Regions from separate parts of the Homo sapiens genome. Here regions 1, 2 and 4 are each linked to region 3. The links are contacts of gene promoters, found by promoter capture Hi-C in human tissues and cell types (Jung and others, 2019). All regions are on one chromosome and are shown on one strand. The core of a region is centred on a gene start or on the middle of the fragment in contact, and the rest is flanking DNA. Distances in the headings are between cores, read along the strand shown. Region 1 has its middle 8.2 kb from the start of MSANTD5. Region 2 has its middle 34 kb from the start of ZNF354A. Region 3 holds the start of ZNF879 (zinc finger protein 879). Region 4 overlaps CLK4 (CDC like kinase 4).

Region 1 (3,215 bases), core at 22-2,521, 330 kb after region 3:
CCTCGGCCTCCCAAAGTGCTGGGATTACAGGCTTGAGCCACTGTGCCCGGCTGACTTTTTCCTATATTTTTCTTAAAGTTTTATAGTTTTACATTTTGCATTTAAGTCCCTGGTACATTTGAGTTAAATTGTGATTAAGGTTTGTGAAGTTTAGGTTAAGGTTCATTTTGTGTGTATGTGCCTGTGAATGTCCAGTTGCTCTTCTCTGAAGAGGCTATCTTTTCTGCGTTGAATTTCTTTTGCATTTTTGTGACAAATTAGGTGGGCATATTTGTGTGGTTCTTGTCATGGGTTCTCTACCTTGTTCCATTGGTCTGCACTCTGCTAATATCACACACCCTTGTTTACTATAGCTGTATAAGTTATTAAATCATATAAATTAATTCTTCCTACTTTGTTCTTTGATTGATTTTTCAAACATTGAACCAGCCTCATATCTCTGGAGTACATCAATTGTCCATCATATAATTTTTTCATCTATTATTGATGTATTAGTAATGTTTTATTAATGATTTCTGCATCAGTATTCAAGAAAGATGCTGTTTTACAGTTTTGTTGTACTGTCTTTTTCTGGTTTTGGTATCAGGATAATACTAGCTTCATAAAGTCCATTTGCAAGTGAAATAAGCTAGCCACAGGAAGATAAATACTGCATGCTCTCACTTATATGTGGAATCTAAAATAGTCAGACTCATAGAAGAGAGTAGAATGGTGGTTTCCAGGGCTGGAGGGAGGGAGAAGTGGGGGGATGGGGGGATGCTGGTCATGAGTGTAAATTTCCGGTTACTCAAGATGAGTAAGTTCTGGAGATGGAATGTACAGCATGGTGACTATAGTTAACACTATTGTATTTTATACCTGAAATTTGTTTAGAGGGTAGATCTTAAGTGTTCTCATCTTACACACACACACAAAGGTTAACTATGTGAGGCGATAAATATGTTAACTGACTTGACTATGGTGCTCATTGCACAATATATACATATATAAAAAATCAAGTTTTAAAATCGATACCTTTTTTTGAGACGCAGTCTCGCTCTGTCACCCAGGCTGGAGTGCAGTGGCGCGATCTCGGCTCACTGCAAGCTCTGCCTCCTGGGTTCACACTGTGACATGGGGCTGGAGAGTTGATCTAAACTGAGGGAGGACAGTGAAGGTGTCCCTGGCCAGCTGAAGGCAAACTGCTTCAGGTGGGCCTTCTGGACAGGGATGGAGAAAAAGGTGTGTGTCAGATCAATAGTTACATACCATGTACCAGGATATGTGTTAATTTGCTCAAGCAATGAAACAGCATCTGGTACAGCAACTGCAATTAGAGTTATCACTTGGTTAAGCTTCTGGGAATCCACCATCATTCTCCAGGATTCATCTGTCTTCTGCACAGGCCAGGAGAGTTGGACAAGGATGTGGGGTAGGAATCACCACCCCTCCATACTTCAAGTCTTTGATGATGGCACTCATCTATATCATTCCTCCAGGAAGGCAGTATTGGTGTGTTTTTTGTTTTAGTATTTTTCTAGGTAGAGATGGCTGTAACGCCTTCCATTTGTCCTTTCCCATCACAATTGCCCTCACTTTATAGCTCAGGGAACCCGTGTGGAAACTCTGCTAGCTGCTGAACACGTCTGTTCCAACTACACATCTGGACCCGGGAAATGACCAGAGAATGGGTTCCGGGACCCGCTGGGCCCACGGTGAGTTGGACCTGAGTTAAAGCTCCTGGTACCAAGATATGGAAAAACCTCTTTGACTGTCTTATTTCACTGGAAAACAGTATGGAGTTTACTCAAAAAAATTAAAAATAGAACTACCACATAATTCAACAGTGCCACTTCTGGGTATGTATCCAGGATCTGGAAGAGAGATCTGCATCTCACGTTCATTGCAGCACTATTCACAGTAGCAAAGATACGGAAACAATCTAAGTGTCCACTGACAGGTGAATGGATAAAAAGAAAACTTGACACACATACACACACAGCGGAATATTATTCAGCCACTTTAAAAAAGAAGTCCTGCCTATCAACAACATAAATGAACCTAGAGGGCACTATACTCAGTGAAGTGTGACAGAGACAGACAAATACTGTATGGTATCACTTATATATGGAATCTAAAAAGAAGAAACATTTCCAACTCATAGAAGCAGAGAGCAGAGCAACCTGGTGGTTGCCGGGAAGGGAGGTGGGGGAGGAAATGGAGAGATCTTGATCAAAGTGTACAAACTTTCAGTTATAAGATGAAGGAATTCTAAAGATCTAATGTACAGCACGGTGAGCATAGTTAATAATACTATATTTTATACTGAAGCTTGCTAAGAGAGTAGATCTGAAGTGTTCTCACCGAAAAAGGGAGGGGGTAAGTGTGGGAAGTATTGGGTAAGTGCTGTGGTTTGGATATTTGCCTCCAAATCTCATAATGTGAAATGCAATCCCCAGTGTTGAAGGTAAGGGCTAGTAGGTGTTTGGGTCATGGGCGTGGATCCCTCATTAATGGCTTGGTGCTGTCCTTGAGGTCATGAGTGAGTTCTTACTCTATTAGTTACCAAGAGATCTGATTGTTTAAAAGGGCCTGGCATCTCTCTCTTGCCTCCTCTCTTGCCATGTGACATGCCTGCTCCCTTTTTGCCTTCCACCAACAGTAAAGCCTTCCTGAGGCCTCCCCGGACTCCCAGCAGTTACTGGTGCCGTGTTAGTGCAGGCTGCAGAACTGTGGGCCAAATAACCTGTTTTCTGTATAAATTACCCATCCTCAGGTATTCCTTTACAGCCATGCGAAACAGACTAATGCAGCATGCTAATTAACTTTATCATGGTAATAACTTTATTTTATTATTTATTTACTTAGAGTCTCATTTTGTCACCCACGCTGGAGTGCAGTGGCACCATCTCAGCTAACTGCAACTTCTGCCTCCCAGGTTCAAGCAATTCTCCCATCTCAGCTTCCTGAGTAGTAGCTGGGATTAAAGGCACATGCCACCACACCTGGCTAATTTTTTGTATTTTTTTGGAGAGATGGGGTTTCGCTGTGTTGCCCAGGCTGATCTCAAACTCCTGGCCTCAAGTAATCCTCCCGCTGTGGCCTCCCAAAGTGCCGGGATTACAGGTGTGAGCCACCAGGGCTGGCCAGGGTAATCATTTTAAAGTGTTAACATATGTGAAATCATCAGTTGTACACCTTAAATAGATACAATTTTCTGTCAATTATGCCTCAAT
Region 2 (3,688 bases), core at 685-3,184, 260 kb after region 3:
TTTCCTTTGTTCTTTCTTTACATATCCTGACTCGACAGTGTTTCTCTCGCCCTTGATGGGAGCTTCAGGTTCTTGCCAAAGTATGTATCACATAATTGCTTTCATGTTCAGACACGGCAAGAGTGGGTTGTAAATGACTGCGACGCCGATGTCACAATTCTGTTAGGCCTGGTTGACCTTGCAAATTGAATTCAGGGAGGGCAGTGCTTCTATCTGGCTGCTAGATTTATTGTTCCCAGTCTGGGGAGAGGCCTGGGGAGGCGTGGTATGGGATTTCTGTGCCTAGGCAGCCACTCCAGCTTGTCCTGTGCTGCCTCCCTCCTTTCCATCTTGGTGTCTTCCTCAGCTCTCGAAACAGAAGGCAGCAGCCCATGATTGATGGGCTCCGGCCCGCTGGGGTGTTATTAACCACTCTGTCAAGGTGACAATGTCATTTTTAATGTTCCATCTTCAGACTTGAGGCTTATTCTTAGGTTGAGAGTTAGCCAACCTTGACAGAGATAGAACCCCTAAAAGTTTAAGACGTGGTTCTTGACCCTGGCTGCTGGGGAGCTTGCAACAATACCGGTTTCCATGAGGGTACCTTCTGGGATGCAGGAAATGTTAGATGTCTTTATCCACGTGGTGGTTACTTGAGTTCATATATGTGTAGCAAAAACTTGGGCTTTGGTGAGGATATGGAGAAACTGAACCCTGGTGCCTTACTGGTGGGAATGTAAATTGGGGCAGCTGCTGTGGAAACACACTGGTGGCTCCTCAAAAAGTTAAACATGTAATTACCCTGTGAGCCAGGAATTGCACTCCTAGGTATATACCCAAAAGAACTGAAAGCAAGGACAGAAGCAGATGCTTGTAAGCTAATGTTTGTAGCAGCGTTATTCACAACCACCAAAAGGTGGAAACAACACAAGCATTTGCTGATGAATGGTTACTGTTCTGTCCCTACAATAGAATGTTATTCAGCCACGAAAAGGAATGAAGTTCTGACACACACTGCAATGTGTATGAACCTTGAACCCATTATCGTGACAGACACTGGTCACAAAATGACAAATACTGTATGATTCCACTTACATGAAATACCCAGAATAGTCACATTCACAGGGACAGAAAGTAGACCAGAGCTTATTCAGGGAAGGGGAGAGAGAAGGAATGGGGAGTGAATATTTAATGGGTACATAGTTTTAGTTTGGAATGATGAAAAGTTTCTAGAAATGGATGGTGGTGACTTTTGCATAACACTGTGAATGTACTTAATGCCACTGAACTGTACACTTAAAAATGGGTGGAGTGGCAAGTTTTACGTTATGTATATTTTACCATAATAAAGATATTTGAGATGTACAGTTAAAATTTTTGCTGTGGACTATAAATGTATGTTTTACCTGAATTGTAAAATCTGATTTCTAGGCCCTACTCCTAAGGATTCTGATTTTTTTTTTTTTTTTTTTTTTTAAGACAGAGTCTGACTCTGTCACTCAGGCTGGAGTGCAGCGGCATAATACCGGCTCACTGCAACCTCTGCCTCCCAGGTTCAAGAGATTCTCGTGCCTCAGCCTCCCGAGTAGCTGGGATTGCAGGTGTGCACCACTTGTCCAGCTAATTTTTGTATTTTTAGTAGAGATGGGGTTTCACCGTGTTGCCCAGGCTTGTCTCGAACTCCTGACTTCAGGTGATGATTTTAATAGTTGGGAGAAAACTCTGGGCATCATTATCTTTAAAAACTTTAAAAACTTACCATGAGGAATTTATAGTTGAGGAAAAGAGGCAAAACTTAGGCATGAAAACCCCTCAAGAATAAGAATTGTGGAATCAAGGCTGGGCCATGTGCTGTATGAAGGCCAATGAGTTGTGAGTGGAAGGGACGTATCATTTTTACGTCACAGGTCTTAATTGCTGATGTAAGAGTCTCCAAAGCTCTCTTTTCCCTTTGGTCATGTTTGACATGGGGGCTGCTCTGTCCCCCTGGTCCTGAGTGATACAGGTTCTGACACTGGGCCTGGAATGATGAGTGGGATTGAAGGAGTATAGGAATTGAATGATCCTATGTAACATAAGTGGGGCAACAGTGTCACGGAAACTCATACATGGGGAAAGCTTTGTGAGTTTCTTGGGCTTTTCCTCATGGTCACAAGATGGCTGCTGCAGCTCCGGCACCACATCCTCAAATACTTAAAGCAATGAGGCAGCCAGTGCAGTGAGAAGTCTCTTTGAAGCCCGTTCTTATTTGACCAGGGGGAAGTTTCTCCCCAGAAAGATTGTCAGCAGCCTTCTCCTCCGACTCATTGGCTAAGAACTGTATCTCATGGCCACCGCTAGCTCTAGAGGAAACTGGGAAGCAAGTATCTGTATTCCTTTCCTTTACTTTCTGTGTTTTGATATAATTTCAAATTAAAGTTTCAAAAATAGCACTAACAATTCTAGATAATCTTCACTCAAACTGCCCAAATGTTGGCATTATGTGACATTTGCTTAATCCTTTTCTCTCTCCTTACGTACACACACATACACACGTACTTATGTGTATTTTTTTTCTAAATGGTTTGAGTCAACTGCACACACAATGTGCCTTTGTCCCTAAATACTCTATTGTGAATTCCTGAAAACAAGGATATTCTCACCAGGCACAGTGCCTCATGCCTGTAATCCCAGCACTTTGGGAGACTGAGGCAGGCAGATCATGAAGTCAGGAGTTCGAGACCAGCTTGACCAACATGTGAAGCCCCGTCTCCACTAAAAATACAAAATTAGCCGGGCATGGTGGCACATGCCTGTAATCCCAGCTTCTCAGGAGGCTGAGACAGGAGAATTGCTTGAACCCGGGAGGCAGAGGTAGCAGTTAGCTGAGATCGCGCCACTGCACTCCAGCCTGGGCGGCAGAGCAGCAAGACTTCGTCTCAAAAAAAAAAAAAAAATTCTTTTTTAGCTATACTTTCTAAGAATCTCTTGGTGTCAGGCTCCCAGAGAACCCCACAGAATATAGACAGTAATGGATGGCATTGTCTACCCTCAGTGAACTTCTTGCCCAACAGGAGGGAAGGAACAAGTATTTCTTGTTCATGTACTACATGTCAAGCCTCGAGTTAGCCACTCACATTCACTCTCTCCTTCAAATTAGCATATCAGCTCTGGGAGGCCAGTGCTGTTACCTGGATAATGATTTAGGGGGCTTTGTTCCTTTCAAACCAGAGGAACCATTCATAGCTTTCTCCAATTCCTGGGTCGGCCTCTCCTCACCTCACTTGAGTATGGTTGTTTTAAAAAAGAATCTGAAATATTTTTTATCAGGTGTTTCAAGGAGCTAATTATGAACTTCACTGTAATTGTTCATTAGTTATATTTTGTTCAGTTACCTTAGCAATTTGCCAAATGGAGCACAAAGCTGGCCTTGCTGCTTTCCCTGGGGCTGCTGGTTTCTTGCCTTTGCTGCCGTCTGTGTCTCTGCTTTTTTTCCTTCTCCTTGAAGTGAATTCTATGGGCCTGAACCCAGTGCTCCACTCCCTTTGTTGTGAGGTGAGTTCCCAGGCAGTGTTCTAGCAGGCTTCTCATCTGTTTCAGTCGCAGAGACCTTGGGACAGTTAGTCTCTGCCAAACCTCCTACAGGCCAGGGCTTGCTGACCACAGGCACGTGCTGCGGTCCGTGATGGCGGGCATGCTCGCACTGCGTCTGGAGGTTGGGCACTGCCTC
Region 3 (3,419 bases), core at 807-3,306:
CTTCAACCCCTGCCTCCCGGGTTCAAGTGATTCTCCTGCCTCAGCCTCCAGAGCAGTTGGGACTATAGGCATGCACCACCATCCCTAGCTAACTTCTGTATTTTTAGTAGAGACCGGGTTTCACCATGTTGGTCAGGCTGGTCTTGAACTTCTGACCTCAAGTGATCTGCCCACCTTGGCCTCCCAAGGTCCTGGGAATACAGGGCCTCTCTTTTTCAAATTCCCCGTGTTAGGAAGGAATTATTTAACTCCTCCGTGTCTTTGTCCTCCACAGGGCAAAAACACCTGGATCTTTCACAAAGCTCTGGTAGTGGCAGTGGCCTGGCATTGGAGCCCCATTAAATTCTTTGTCAAAAAGCATGAGACTGGGGGCCGGGCGCGGTGGCTCACGCCCATAGTCCCAACACTTTAGGAGGCTGAGGCGGGCAGATTGCTTGAGGTCAGGAGTTCAAGACCAGCCTTGCCAACTTGTTGAAGCCTGGTCTCTACTAAAAATACAAAAATTAGCTGGGTGTGGTGGCACACATGCCTGTAGTCCCAGCTACCAGGGAGGTTGAGGCTGCAGTGAGCCATGTCCGTGCCACTGCACTCCAGCCTGGGTAACAGAGTGAGACCCTGTCTCAAAAAAGGGAAAGAAAAAAAAAAAAAAGCATGAGACAGGCTCTGAGGCAAGGGAAACACCTTCCTTCCAGAGTTTCTCAGCTACCAAGCCCTCTGGTCCTTCCCTGAGCTTCACTGGGTAGAGAAGCTCAACAACAGATGAAGAAGTTTACCACGTCTAGACCCTGAAGGCAGTTCAAGCAAAAAGAAGCCTTCACTCACCTGTACATGGGCTGGCAGCAACCTCCTTGCCATTTCTCCCTCCCTGCTGCCTCTCTTGGAGAAGGCACCTGGAATGGAGAAAAAAGCTGTGAGGTCTTTTCATCCAGCCTGCATGCCCACCCTCATTAGGCCAGACCAGGTTAGAAGCCATAAGCTGAGCACCTGCAGAGAAGGAGCCTGGAACTGCCCAGGCCAGAGGGGCCCTAAGTCCGGCCACTTAAACCAGTGTGGGAAGCAGGTTCAGAGTCACCGGGCCTGCTACCTTTCTGCCAGTGCTTTACGATAAAGACGAAAGGAGCGAAGGGATGAAGACCATCTGCCGTGCCTTAACAGGGTCAAGGGCAGAATCAGGCAAGGCTCATTCAGATAAAGTAATAGGAAATGACACAATATTCCACACATCTGCACTTGGATGTTGTTCAATACGAAAAACAGCAGTTGAAGAACTGATGCTCTTTTTTAGGAACAGCCAACCAAAAATTAGTCCTCTTTTCTTCCTCTTGTAAGATTTACTTCCTTTATCAAAAACAGTTATCAAAGCTGCTTAAAGGTAGCGTTACCCATTCTCCCTGGCCCCAAAAAAACAAGGGCGCAAGAAAACAGCATCACTAGCTAGAAATTGATTTAAAATTTAGAGAAATGGGAAGAAACGTAGCAAGTGGACATGGTTACGGTAAATAAAAAAAGAAATAGTTAAATCACTCTAGGACTGGCTGTAGGAAAACACTGCCAAACGTGCAAGACTGCCAAAAACGAGTAAATCTAAAGTTTAAACTCCGGGAAACGGAGTAGGGGGAGGCTTAAACCCACAAACACTAAGAGCGAAAAACCGCCCGGAGGGCTCCGGACCCTGAACCGAGGCGGCATTTTGCAGTTTCTGTTCTGGAGCCGTTTCCCCCGGAGTCCGGCCCAGGCTGCGGCCCAGGAGTCCAGCGGCGTCGAAGCGCCCTCCCGGCCTCCGCCAGGCCCTTCCCAGGCCACGCCCCCTCCGGGGCCGGGTTCACCTGCCGAGGCCGCCCCGGCTCGGACGCCCGGAGCCGGGGACTCGGCAGACACGCGCAGAGGCCAGCCCTCGTCCTGGTCCCGCCGCGGCAGCCGCACGCCCCGGGCCCGCCCTCACCGGCAGCCTGTACCTGGGCCCGCCTCGGCGGGGGGCGCGCAGCTCCACACCGCACAAGAGGCGAGCGGAACACCTAATTCAGAGACGTTTCCCGTCGCTGCCGGGCGCAACTGCGCCTGCGCGCCGGAGAGCCGACGGGTTTCCCTGGCTGAACCGCAGCGTTTGTCCCTCCGGACTTCATTTCCCAGACGTCGCTGCGGCACCACCACTTACGGTGTCCGAGAGAGAACCACAGCGCCGAGAGCGGAGAACGCGGTCGGGCTGTGGAGTTCGAGAAGGCTGAAGCCGAGTCCCTCAGCTTGGGCTCCAACTACTCTCCCTCCGCTAAACCACCCATTGTATTCGTAATTAGAATGACAAAAATAGTAAGACGGAAAAGTGAGTATGAATTTTTAAATCTGGAAGACTAGCCGCTGCTGATTATTCGCAGGTGGTGACAGAACTATTACAGTCCATTCTGCGATTTTAATTAAAAATGAATTATGTCTAAATTTTATAATCTCGGCCGGGCGCGGTGGCTTATGCCTGTAATCGCAGCACTTTGGGAGGCCGAGGTGGGCGGATCACAAGGTCAGGAGACCGAGACCATCTTGGCCAACATGGTGCAACCCTGTCTCTACGAAAACACGAAAAATTAGTCGGGCGTGGTGGCACATGCCTGTAATCCCAGCTATTCGGGAGGCTGAGGCAGGAGAATCGCTTGAACCTGGGAGGCGAAGGTTGCGGTGAGCTCAGATCGCGCCATTGCACTCCAGCCTGGGTGACAGAGCAAGACTCTGTCTCAAATAAATAAATAAATAAATAAATAAATTTTTGTAATCTTTACATATTTACTGGCACTCAGAGTAAAACAAAAGCATAAGCCTAGTATTTCCCTCTTCATGGCACTCACTTCTTTTGAAGTGACTTCTTTAAAACGTAAAATAAAGCCCAACTCCCAGCGCTATCATCACAACTGCATCCTCGGTGACCGGCACTGTACACGCCAAATACTATGTGCTCAGAAAGTGTTGATTTTTAAAATATCAAACATTAGCGTTTACAGAGACAAACCTAAACACAAAGGGTACTTGAAGATAGAAAATGCAGAGAGGGACTAAGAGATATCAGGTAGATAATATGAAAAAGAAATCTTGGATCACGATGTTACAACAATACAAAGATTATTGCAATGTAAAAATAATTAAATCGAACAAAATGGATGTTTTATATTGTTAAAAGATAATAATGCACATCACTAATCATTAGGGGAATGCAGATCAAAGCAGATCAAACATCCACTGCGATTTCACACTCATTAGGTTGGCTATTATAAAATTTGGAAAAAAAAGAAAACCAGAAAACAATCCTTGTGCCTTAATGGTGGGAATGTAAAATGGTAGCGCTGCGCTGGAAAACGGTATGGCAGTTCCTCAAAAAAAAATTAAATGTAGAATTAACACATGGGCAATTCCATTTCTGGACCATATGTTATTTC
Region 4 (3,252 bases), core at 121-2,620, 400 kb after region 3:
AGATAGCTTTTCTTTTTTATGTATGCGAAGGAACCTTACCACGTAGAACGTGGGTCGGGTGATCTTTGTGCCTCCAGATAAAATATTTTTGAACATTGCAGGGTGAGTGGGGGAGGTCAGAGGCTGGGACTAACAGCTGAATTACATTTGAAGTAGTGAACTTGAGAAGAATTTTGGACTCTCACAACGGAGCTCGTTCTTATTTTAATGTTTGCATATTAACTGATAATTTGAGAGTTCTGTTTTGCTGGAGGTTAGCTGGTTGTAAGCAGACTTACAGTAGAAGAGGAAAAAACAAAACTGAAGAAGATACATAAGTCTTGAAAAAAACTTCATAGTAATGGAGGGTCATAATAATAACGCTCGGTCATCAGATGTGATTTTGCTTGCTATGATTTAAAAATGCTTAACCAAGCTGAGTTCCTGATGTGGTTAAAATACAACTTTGGTATTTGACGGAACGCTTCAGAAGAACTGCACTTGAAATACACATTTTCTTTTTTTTTTTTTTTTTTTTTTTGAGACAGGGTCTCACTGTCGCCCATACTGGTATGCAATGGCGTGATCATGGCTCACTGCAGCCTTGACTTCCTTGGGCTCCAGTGATTGTCCCAGTAGGTGGGACTACAGGCTCGAGTCACCATGTGCGGCTAATTTTTTGTATTTTTTGTAAAGGCAGGGTTTCGCCGTGTTGCCCAGGCCAGTCTCGAATTCCTGGGCTCAAGGGATGAGGCGCCACTGCGTCCAGCCATAAATTTTTCTTGATAGCTCTAATGAAGAAAGTTTGTGTTTTGGCCTTTTGCCTCAAGTAAATGTGTGCTGTTATTCATGTCACGTTCCCATATGGAAGTGACTCCATTTGTATCAAACCGGAATGCTCACTTCCATTGAGACGCTAACAAGAGTTTTAGAATTGCTGTTTGGCCTGATCAGTGCCTTCTCTTCCTCTGTAAAGTGAGCTGAGAGCCACCTTAGAAGGATGCTTGATGGGTATAGAATTAGAATCAGCAAGAGAGTGAATTAAAATATCTGACTATCTGGTGGCAATCAGACTCTGATGGCGTGACACATACTTTCTTGTGGAATACCTCCCAGAAGAATTGAAGCTGCCTCACTCCAAAACCTTTAATCCATTTAAAATCATTTAAATTTCTGCTTGCATTTGTTTGCTTATTAGTCATTTGGGCAAGCTGAATGAGGTTAACTGAGTGGGTTTTACTCCATTTTAGCTTTTTTCAGCTCCTTGCTGAATTGTGAAATTCTTCTCTTTTTACCATTTAAACTCACCCTGTTTAGGAGAATTTGGACCTGACTGTTAAAACTTAACTGTTTTGGAAAATAATTAAGATGGGGAGAGACAGATAGGGGTTATATTGTTTGAGCGCAGATGCTGAGCCTGGAAGGAACCCAGGTTATGCACTGGAGTTTGTAAATAAAGTCAGCTGTCACCGTTATCGTTTGCTTTCACTGTGACCATGCTTCAGTGTGCATCCTTGTAGGTTGAGTTCTTTTTCAGAGTTACTCCAGATTTACTACAAATAGATTTTAAGGTTAAGAATAACTGCTGGATAAGAAAATGAACTTGTTGGATAGAGAAAATGAGTTCATAAAATCACATAAACATTTAAAAAAATTTTTTTTGTAGAGACAGTTTCACTATGTGTAGCGCAGGCTGGTCTCAGACTCCTGGGCTTGGCCTCCCAAAATTCTGGGATTACAGGCATGAGCCACCGTACCCGGCCTAAAATCACCTTTTTATATCTCTTCAGTTTCTCTGTTGAATATTGTGTTCTATCCACACAGAACTAATATTCTCAAAGCTTAGAGTCATTCTGAGATTTAGAGAAAAGAACTATGGAGAATTTGAGAAAAAGAAGCTTCATCATTGAATAGCTCTTTACCATTAAAACAAAGTCACCTCCCATATTTAGTATCCCTAAGTGTTTTTGTCTTGCACTTCAGTTATTTGTATTACAGTACTTTGCCAAAGCTGCATGACACTGATATTATTTCTCCTTAAATCAGCTCACATTTTAATGTTAACATTTTTAAAAGAAAATATGTCAATAACTTAATTGGAAAATCACTAATAAGTAGAAAGTAACAAAATAAGATAAATAAAAACGTTACTAATTTTTAGCTAAATACTCTTGTCTGCTGGAAACACTAGGCCTGAACCTTTTTATTTGCCCCCCCCGGCTTTTTTTTAATTTTTAAAAAGGCAGTTAGCAAGTGTTAGTTGAAGACAAGCACCAAGCTGAGAATTTGTCCTGGCTGTAATCAGAATTCAAAAAAAAAAAATGTCTTAAGGTATCAGTATTACCCACAATTTAATACTAGATCTCTATGCCTCTTAGCAGTCATCTGACATACCAGTGCCTTGGGAAGCATTACCACCTAAAAAGATTTTGGAGCCTGTAAGACCCTGTGTGTTGGGTTTTGATAACTTAAATAATATTAATATATAATAATTTACCTATCACACATCTGTAACCTCCACAATTCCCTTTTCATTTCTATCAACAGATGCGGCATTCCAAAAGAACTCACTGTCCTGATTGGGATAGCAGAGAAAGCTGGGGACATGAAAGCTATCGTGGAAGTCACAAGCGGAAGAGGAGATCTCATAGTAGCACACAAGAGAACAGGCATTGTAAACCACATCACCAGTTTAAAGAATCTGATTGGTAAATTAACTCTTGAACTACTAGCATTTTAGCTCTAATAGTTTTAAATGATTTGTCATTTGCTTATATAGCTTTCATCTGTCAAATTGTTTTATAATTCAGTCAACAAATATTCGTTTAGAAAATATTTGAGTACTTATTTTAGATAGGCGCTGAGGCTACAGCTGTAAATAAAACAAAGTTCTTATCCTTATGTATGTCTGTCTGCCTGGGAGTGGTAGGAGACAGTTGATCAGTAAGTGAATGTGAAATGTATTAAATAACATGGTGAGTCCCAACTGCCAGTAACGTGATTAGGGAGATGACACACAAAAAGTTAAGTAATAGTGATAGAATGCCCAATGAGTACCTTTAACTTGTATGTAGGAGGGAGATGGGTATGTTGTAGTGCTCATTGTTTCAGAAATAAGGTAGGGTTTTATAGGGGAGGAGTTATTCCAACAGAGAAAAGCAGCATGTATTATTAGTCACTTATACCATGTCGTACAGGTTATATTTGTAGATGAGGCCAAGGGATATGTTTGGGATTTTTAGAAGCTGGCTTTATTTAAGAACTATTCTTTTG

The links. The method cuts DNA at HindIII sites, captures the fragments that hold promoters and counts their contacts. A contact is called where the count stands out against the background at its distance.
Region 1: a fragment that was not itself captured here is called in contact with the fragment with the promoter of ZNF879 in region 3 in 2 of the 25 tissues and cell types used here (dorsolateral prefrontal cortex and mesenchymal stem cells).
Region 2: a fragment that was not itself captured here is called in contact with the fragment with the promoter of ZNF879 in region 3 in 1 of the 25 tissues and cell types used here (thymus).
Region 4: a contact is called between a fragment that was not itself captured here and the fragment with the promoter of ZNF879 in region 3, in 1 of the 25 tissues and cell types used here (hippocampus).

What each region holds. Positions count from the first base shown.
Region 1 is chr5:178,687,972-178,691,186 of GRCh38, reverse strand. No RefSeq gene overlaps it. Among named protein-coding and RNA genes, the nearest start is that of MSANTD5, 8.2 kb to the left of the region's middle. The HindIII fragment of the contact is 5,435 bases long and covers 1-3,215 here.
Region 2 is chr5:178,762,526-178,766,213 of GRCh38, reverse strand. It overlaps the pseudogene AACSP1. Among named protein-coding and RNA genes, the nearest start is that of ZNF354A, 34 kb to the right of the region's middle. The HindIII fragment of the contact is 4,639 bases long and covers 1-3,688 here.
Region 3 is chr5:179,022,441-179,025,859 of GRCh38, reverse strand. It overlaps ZNF879 (zinc finger protein 879), which reads right to left and starts at 2,056. Exons shown (of 5, transcript NM_001136116.3): 1 at 1,956-2,056; 2 at 823-890. The coding sequence starts at 855. RefSeq lists an enhancer at 1,927-2,428. The HindIII fragment of the contact is 17,237 bases long and covers 1-3,419 here.
Region 4 is chr5:178,622,691-178,625,942 of GRCh38, reverse strand. CLK4 (CDC like kinase 4) reads left to right here. Exons shown (of 13, transcript NM_020666.3): 2 at 2,527-2,687. The coding sequence starts at 2,527. Among named protein-coding and RNA genes, the nearest start is that of CLK4, 2.7 kb to the left of the region's middle. The HindIII fragment of the contact is 5,209 bases long and covers 1-3,252 here.